2 separate regions of the Homo sapiens genome follow, and region 2 is linked to region 1. The links are contacts of gene promoters, found by promoter capture Hi-C in blood cells and fetal thymus (Javierre and others, 2016). All regions are on one chromosome and are shown on one strand. Each heading gives the region's core, a stretch centred on a gene start or on the middle of the fragment in contact. The rest is flanking DNA. Distances are from core to core; before and after follow the strand shown. Region 1 holds the start of DOK7 (docking protein 7). Region 2 overlaps HTT (huntingtin).

Evidence for each region. The method cuts DNA at HindIII sites, captures the fragments that hold promoters and counts their contacts. A CHiCAGO score of 5 or more calls a contact.
Region 2: a contact is called between a fragment that was not itself captured here and the fragment with the promoter of DOK7 in region 1, in 2 of 17 cell types (naive CD4 T cells and M0 macrophages). The highest score is 5.2, in naive CD4 T cells.

The regions. Positions count from the first base shown.
Region 1 is chr4:3,461,274-3,465,339 of GRCh38, forward strand. It overlaps DOK7 (docking protein 7), which reads left to right and starts at 2,033. Exons shown (of 7, transcript NM_173660.5): 1 at 2,033-2,156; 2 at 2,233-2,278. The coding sequence starts at 2,103. RefSeq lists an enhancer at 811-1,658. The HindIII fragment of the contact is 8,339 bases long and covers 268-4,066 here.
Region 2 is chr4:3,190,294-3,194,359 of GRCh38, forward strand. The region is part of intron 40 of HTT (huntingtin); the gene reads left to right. Among named protein-coding and RNA genes, the nearest start is that of MSANTD1, 57 kb to the right of the region's middle. The HindIII fragment of the contact is 7,428 bases long and covers 1-4,066 here.

The DNA of each region.
Region 1 (4,066 bases), core at 783-3,282:
TTTCAGGATGTGGCTCTGTTTTCACTGCCTACCAGCTCTCCAGCCTTCCCCTTGGTTCTTGGAGACCTGATTTGCTTCCAATCAACCCCTTCCTACTCAGTGGCCAGCCTATTTCTCCATTTGCAACCAGCAACCCTGGCTATAACTTCTGGGGAAACTTCTGGCTATAACTTCTGAGGCACGGAGCGGGGCAGGAGCTTGCCCAGGGTCACAGCGCTCTCGGCCAGTCTGGGAGTGGCAGCCAGGCCACCTCCTCCTCCTGCAGGAAGCTTCCTCCACCTTTCAGCAGCCCTGGAGCCGCATGGAGCAGGGAAGGGAGTTGTCTACCCTCCGGCATCCTGTGTGTTCCAGGCTGTGTGGGAGCAGGTGCAGCTGCCAGGCATGGCAGGAGCCTGGGCCCGGGCCAGCACTCAGGAATGCAGCAGGGCCCTGCCTCTCCCTGTAGGGATAAGCAAGTGCCAGGCGCCCAGGGCAGCGGATGTGTCTGTGGCTACAGCCCCAACGGCCCCCGCCTCCGCACCGGCTGTCCTGGGCCAGCCCCTTGGGGGCCTGGGATGTGTGGGGAGCATGAATGGGGCTCTGTGACCCAGCAACTGTTCTGCGGAAGGCGGCTGGTGGCTGCACAGGTGACTGCGGGGGTGGGTGGGGGATGCAAAATTCTGCTTCCTGGGCCTGGTGTCCCCCGCCTTGCATGAGGCCCTGACAAGACATCACCGAAGCACCAAAGCCAACCCTTGTGGCCCACCGGAGACCTGTCTCTTGGATCACAGGGGCAGTGGGGAGGGGCGCCCAGGGCTCCCGATGCCTCTGAGCCCTGCTCTGAGGTCAGCCGATGTGGCTCAGTCCTGGCTGTGAGGCCTCACGCTGCCCTGATTCCATTTGCTCCTCAGTGCGAGGCAGACAGAGCCCAGCCTAGGGTCTGGATGGGATGAAATGAAGACGTCTCCTCCCTAACGGGACACTGTCTACCCCTTCCTTCTTCTCCCCCGAGAACCGTCAGCCCCGTGAGGATGGGGTCTAGGGTAGGGCATGTGGACGGAGCTTTGCTGTTTGTCCAGGTGCTTATCTTCTAGGGTGCCATCGCCCCTCCCCACTGCTGTTCCCGTATCTGCTGGGTGTCCCCAACCCCAGGGTGGTGGAGGCCGTCTCTCGGATGGGGCTGACACCCAAGGCACGGACCTGCCAGGTCCCCCAAAGCACATGGCCTCTCTGCAGAAGAACCTGGATGTGACATCTAATGCCCAGGCCAGAGCTTGGGGACAGCTGGACTGGAGCCACAGGGTCAAGGAGGGGGAGTCCAGAAGCGCAAAGTCCACCCAGCTGGGAGGGCTGCTGGCAGGTCCTTTACAAAGCAGGCAGCTCCTCTGCCCATCGGAGCCGGCTGGCCTAACCAGGGCCTGCTCTTGCCTGGGATGGGGGCAGAAGAGGTGGAGACCTGGGGCCCTGAGGCGGCACTGTGGGTCCTGGACCCGCCCACCTGCACTGGGGTCCCTGCAGGCTTTTAATGGGAACAGAAATGGAGGAAGAGACAGAGGCTGCCAGGGGCTCCCCGACCCCTACTGCCTGCCTGGGGAGGGGTCACCTCAGTGTGGGGGAAGCCTGGGGATGTGAGAGCATCCTAGGCCTGGGCTGCCTGTGGCCAGTCTGTTGTCCGGGTGTCTAGTGACCCCTGGGGTAGGGGCAGATGCCAGTCTGGGAAGCCGGATTGTTTGAAGACCAACTTTAAAGTTGGGAGCAGTGCCCAGAGCGGGGCCGATGTCTGCTAGGTGGTTGTCTCTGCTTTTTGAAAAAGAAGTCCCCGCCCGACCCCCGCCCCGCCAGGCGCTGGTCTGAGCGTCTGAGCCCAGATGGTGCGCTTGCTCCAGAGGGCGGGCGGCTCCAGTGGCCGCCGCGGGACGGTGGGGCCAGAGGGGCCCGTGGGGGTGGGGGAGCCGCCCGCAGGAGAAGGAGCCCCGCCCGCGCCGGCCCTGGAGTCGCCGGTGTCGCCGCCCTGCCCGCGGGCCCGCCCTCCTGGCCCAGCCCAGGGCCCTGCGAGCTATTTTGAAAGTGACCCTGGGCTGGGGCGCCGGGGCGAGCGCGGCGGCGCGGAACCATGACAGAAGATGACCGAGGCGGCGCTGGTGGAGGGCCAGGTCAAGCTGCGGGACGGCAAGAAGGTCGGGGCGCGTCGGGGGCGCGGGGGGGGGGGGCGCGGGCGCGGGCGGCGGCTCACGCTCCCCCCTGTCCCCGCAGTGGAAGAGTAGGTGGCTGGTGCTGCGGAAGCCGTCGCCCGTGGCAGGTGAGCGGGGCGGGCGGGGGACGGGGGGCGCGGGGGTAGCGACACGGGTTACCGAGGCCCGGGGCAGTAATGCCAGCTTGCCCAAAATCGCCGCCGCTGTCACCCCGCCGGGAAACCCGAGAGCCCCGTGCGGACCCGGACCCCCCGGCGCCCCTGGGAGCGCAGGTGGGGGCCCTGGACGGAAGAACCCTCTTTCCAGCAGGGCAGACTGAGGCCCGAGGGGCTGCCTGGTGGCCCTGTAGGCGGAGGGGACGCAGGCCCTGAGCCCCCCAGCAGAGCAGCAAGGGGCCCCCCAGAAGCAAAGCCCCACATACCTGAGGGTTGAGCTGTGCTTGTGGAAACGCTCAGAGCAGGGCCCCCGAACCCAGCCTCCAGGGGTGCTGCGTGGGTTAGCGCTGACCCTGGACCCCTCCCAGGCAGACGAGAGGCTGGGCTGCGGTAGGGCAGGGCAGAGTGACTGCCACATTGCTGGGGGAACAGTCCTCTGGGAGGAGGCAGGGGTCCCCCCCCAGTCCCCGCCCTGAGCCAGCACCCCAGCTTGGGGAGGGTCAGCATGGAGCCCCCAGGTCTGGCAGCCCAGGCCGCCTGCAGCGCTGGGCCTGTAGGGAGGGCTGAGCCGGGCCTGCAGCTGCTCCAGAGGACAGGTGCGGCAGAGCCGGCCAGGCCCGGGTCTGGGTGGGATGCTCGGCCTGTGTGCATGGGGGGCTGTACGCCAGGGGGCTGCCAGAGCACCCTCCAGGACGGGTGTCTGTGACTCCCAGGGAGGGTGTGGGGCAGGGATCCCTCCTGCGTCCCCTCTGCAGGGCCTCAGGTGGTCCTGGAGGAAAGCACTTCCTGCCTGCCTCCGCCTCCCCTTGCAGGGCCTGGACTGCACGCTGGTCACTTCTCCACTCAGCCCTCCGTGCCCAGACCTCCTGCCTGGAGCTGTGGGGGCACCGACAGAGCCTGGGAGGGCGTCTTTGTCCTCCGGGGCTGCAGGGGACCTGGTATAGGAAGGGATGGGGTCTGGGCAGAGTGAGAGGCCCTGCCAGGCTGGGGCGGATGACAGGCTTTAGTCAGCTGTGGCTGGGTCGGGGCCGTGGTGGGGCAGGTGATGCTTGGTGGATGGTGCTGGGCTGGAGCCGGTGCAGACCCTCCAGAGAGGCCGCATCCCAGGAAGGCACCCGGGACAGCAGCCCCCAAAGAGGAGTGTCGGGGGAGAAGTCTTTGTCCCTGTTGGAGGGATTTTCTTTCTGCATCAGACAGTCCCAGGAGGCAGGGCCTGCCAGCCTCAAGAGGGTGTGCTCCCCCGGCCGGTGAGTGCCTGAGTGGAGTGACAGGAGTTTGCAATGGGTCCCCCAGGTGGGACAATCTGTGAGTCTGTAGGTGAACATGGTGGCTCCCGAGCGTCTGCTGGGTTATCCCGTATCCTGCGCAGTTGAGATCTGCAGCCTTCTGGGGCTGGCGTGGGAGGTGATGTGGGGTAGTAGAAGGTGCCATGCCCCCTCTGGGTGGATGTTCATTCCAAGCCTTGAGGCCAGGTGTCCCTAGCACCCACTGACTCACTGGCCTGGGACCCATTGCTTTGGACACCTGCTTTCTGTGTTGGTCACTCCAGCAGCCCAGGGTTGAAACTGACACCCTGTGGGGTTGCCCAGAGGTCGGTCAGATGAGGGGATGGGACAGAGCGGAGTTCTCACGCCCACCTCCCCACCCTGACCAGGCCAGCCTGGCACCTCCTCTCCGCTCAGAGGCCCTGATGCCTCTTCCCCTGGCCCCTCATAAGCCTCCCTAGATGCTGCCCCCTTT
Region 2 (4,066 bases), core at 894-3,393, 270 kb before region 1:
CTATTATTGCACTCCAGCCTGGGCTACAGAATGATACCCTGCCTCTTATTAAAAAAAAATCCAAAAAAAAAAAAAAGTAAACCTGAGAGCTTCCTCCTCCTGTGTTAAATTTGGAGGCCAAGATGTTTTTGTTACTTTTACAAATGATCAAGGACGGTGAAGGTTGGGCATGGTAGCTCACACCTGAAATCCCAGCACTTTGGGAGGCTGAGGCGGGGTGATCGCTTGAGCTTGAGACCAGCCTGGACAACATAGCAAGAGACCCCATCTCCACAAAAATAAAAAAATAAAAAAAAATAGCCAGGAGTAGTGGCATGAGCCTGAGCCCAGGAGGTCAAGCTGTAGTGAGCCATGATCATGCCACTGCACTCCAGCCTGGGCGAGATCGAGACCATGTCTCTAGAGAAAGAAAATGACAAGGACAGTGAACCCAAGAAAGTCATAAGATGCCAGCTGTGCAGCAAGCATGGAAAGCAGCCAGTCCAAATTAGGACAGTGTGTTTTCCAAGAAGAACGATCGTTTGTAATGAGAATGCTTTGCTTTAAATAAATGACTAAATAGCTAGAAGCCTAGTTCTAGGGGATAGGCACGTCTTTCTTCTCTCAAGAAAATAGAAAGGCAATTCTAATTTCTAGTAACAGCAAACAGCATTAAGTCATGGTCCAAATATGAGGCAAACCAAAATGTGGCTTGATTGTTCAGCAGTTGATCTGTTGGAAGCCCTTGATATTAAAAAGGTTCTCCTTTAAGCGGCTTAGGAGTCACGATCAAAGACCTATAGAAAGAGATGCCATCCTTCTAGGATCCTTGGCTCTCTTGGGAACTAGATTCAGATAGTCATAATGTAAATACTGCTTGAGCTTTCTTTCTTTCTTTCTTTCTTTCTTTTTTTTTTTGAGACAGAGTTTCACTCTTGTTGCCCATCCTGGAGTGCAATGGTGCCATCTCGGCTCACCGCAACCTCTGCCTCCCAGGTTCAAGCAATTCTCCTGCCTCAGCCTCCCGAGTAGCTGGGATTACGGGCATGCACCACCACGCCTGGCTAATTTTTTGTATTTTTAGTAGAGACAGGGTTTCTCCATGTTGAGGCTGGTCTCGAACTCCTGACCTCAGGTGATCCACCCGCCTCGGCCTCCCAAAGTGCTGGGATTACAGGTGTGAGCCACCGCACCCGGCCCGAGCTTTCATTTTTGAAATCAATGTATGACTGAAACACTGAAGACTTACTGACTTAATTATGGTTTCAGAACAGAATGAAAATGTCTTCGGTTCTGATGAATATAAAAGGAAAACTAACCAAGTTAATTTGGCAAGTAGATGGTAGAGATAGAGGTGGGGAGTGGAAGGGGAACTAAAATCTTCACCTAGCATTGTTGGGATTATATGGTTACATCATCTGAAGTTGACAGACCAAAATATAGAGGCTTCAGAGGTCTCCAAATAGAACTAAACATGTAATTCAGATTGTTAGGAGGTAGTATAAATGAGCTAAATCTCATCTTTATTACGGTAGAGTTAATGGGTGATGTCTAAAGTTGTCTGAAGTCTATAAATCATGACAAATTATGATGTGGTGATTGTATTCAACAGTCTTTCAGTTGCAGGGATAAAACCCCAGTTTAAACTAGAGTAAGAGAAAGAATGTGTTGGTTTAAGCTCCTGGAAAGTGCAGGCAAGGGTAGTTGGTAGGACTGCATCTAGTGTTGTAATTCTGTGGTCTGCATTGTATATTTATGCATCTCAGCTCTGCTTTCTTCTTTTCATTTATATAATTTTTAAATTTTATTTTAAAGATAGGGTCTCACTTTGTCGCCTAGGCTGAAGTGCAGTGGCATGAAGTGCAGTGCGAGGCTCACTCTAGCCTCGAACTCCTGGGCTCTAGAGTTCTTCCTGCCTCAGCCTTCTAAGTAGCTGAGACAATAGGCATGTACCAACATGCCTGGATAGGTTTTAAAATTTTTTTGTAGAAATGGAAGTCTTGCTGTGTTGCCCAGGCGGGTCTTTAACTCTTAGCTTCAGGCGATCCTCCTGCCTCTGCCTCCCAAAATGCTGAGGTTATAGGTGTCACCCACCACGCCCAGTCTCATCTCTGCTTCCTGTGTTAGTTTTGTTCTCTGGTGGGCTGTTTTCACATGACCGAAGATGACCTCTAGCAGGCTGTGTTCTCAGCCCCTCAAGTAGGCCTATGTGATTGGCCTTGCATGAGTAATATGGGTGACCATAAACCCCTGAATGCTCTGGTCCACATGGGCCAAATGGGAGACTGGACAGCATTCCATTGATGAGGAGGTGGGGCTGGTCTCCGGGAGTAAGGGAGAGGAGCACATGCAGTAACTGATGGTCTGCTGCAAGGGATAGCAGCACAGCAGTTAGAATTTTGGAGGTAACTACCAGAACTGAAAACAGAAATGATAACAAGTAGTTGCCTTAAAAAGGGATGGGAGCAGGGTGCTTTTGTGATCAAAGCTCCTTTCTCTTACTGGATTTTTGTACACATTTTGCATACATATCTTAGAGTAAAAGATAGCATTTTCAGCCTTGGTCCATTTGAGGATACTCTTGGCGTGGCCCGCCTCCATGCTAGCAGGCTCTGGTTGTGCCAAGTTCAGTTGAGCATCCTGGCTCTTGCCTGCACGGAACTTCCAGTCAGTGCGTCAGTATCACAAGTCTTGATATTTCCTATGAAGAAGAACAGTAGTGCAGTGACAGACGAAATGGGTGGGCAGGCAGAGGCAGGATTTCTGAGGGAGAGAAGTAGCTAGCTTTTTGCAGAGAAGAGTTCCGGCACCCAAGAGAGCAGCTGAGAGTACAGGCAGGCAGGCAGGATGCCGGTAGGGCCCGGCCGCACGGCGCCACAGAATCCTGGAGAAAGGGGCCTCTTCATGGCCTCTGCATTCAGCTGCTGTCACCCTCCGCACAGGCCATGGCCAAAATTTAATTTTCATAGTGGACTCTAGTTTTTGAGCCTTACTTGCTATTATTGAAATAATTTTCTTGTTTCTTTTTAAAGATCTTCGGATTATGCTTCACTGACCACTGTAATAAGTTTAAAGTTGAGAAAATATGGCTTGTTAATGAATGATAGGTCAATTTTAGTATGTTGGTCATTTTAATATTTTGCCACCAGTTGGTTTGGATTTGATGCCAGGAGGAGACAGCCTCATTTCTAAGGACTAGTCTTGCCTTTGTGGGATAAGGGTGGTGTGTTCTGTGTCCTTCTACATGTCCGAGCGATCTCTGTGCAGCTCAAATGTGGTCACTGTCTTATTGCGCTGATTTCCTCTCCTTCCATCTCACAATTGAGGCAAAATATTGTTACTGTTGAAGTGTTGTCCAATAGGACTTCCAGCAGAGACAGGATGTCTGCACTGTCTAATTTAGTTGCCTTTAGCCACATGTGGTGTTCTGTACCTGAAATGTGGCTGGTCTGATTGGATAGCTTAATTTATAATTTTATTTAATTTTAATTAACTTAAATTTAAACAGCTCTGTGTGGATAGTGGCTCCTGTATGAGACAGTGCAGGTCTGTTGAGAAGCAGCTTTACTGGTGGGAGTGGAGGGCTTGGAGAGGGCACGTGGGTTTCCTGCTGGTATCTTTTGACCTTATTTAATCTGCCCAACATTTGCAAGTAAGTTGTGTGTGTGTGTATATATAAATGTGTGTTTCTGTCTTCTTGTTTCCTTTGACTGCATTTATTTGAAAGACACTAGGTGGCAGAATTACTGTATTTGATTGGTTTCAAGATAAGAGTTGAAATAATTCATCTCGTGTTTTTATATAAGTAAGGTGTGTTTAGCATGTAAAATTGGTAATATGTATTCACGTACTGCTTAAACAAAGGCTATGAATTCCACCCATAAACCGAAAATGAAGACCTTTAAATTTGTCCATTTCAGGCGTGGGTACTTCTTAAATAATACCTGGTTCAGGAACTAGTCAGAATGGCACCCTTGACTTTTTGTTTCCTGCTTTTCCTCTTGTTGGGAGAGGAGGGTATTCATCCCAAAGTGGTTTGCCTATTTCACATTCCATCTAGGATAAGCAGAATAGCCAAGAAAGATAG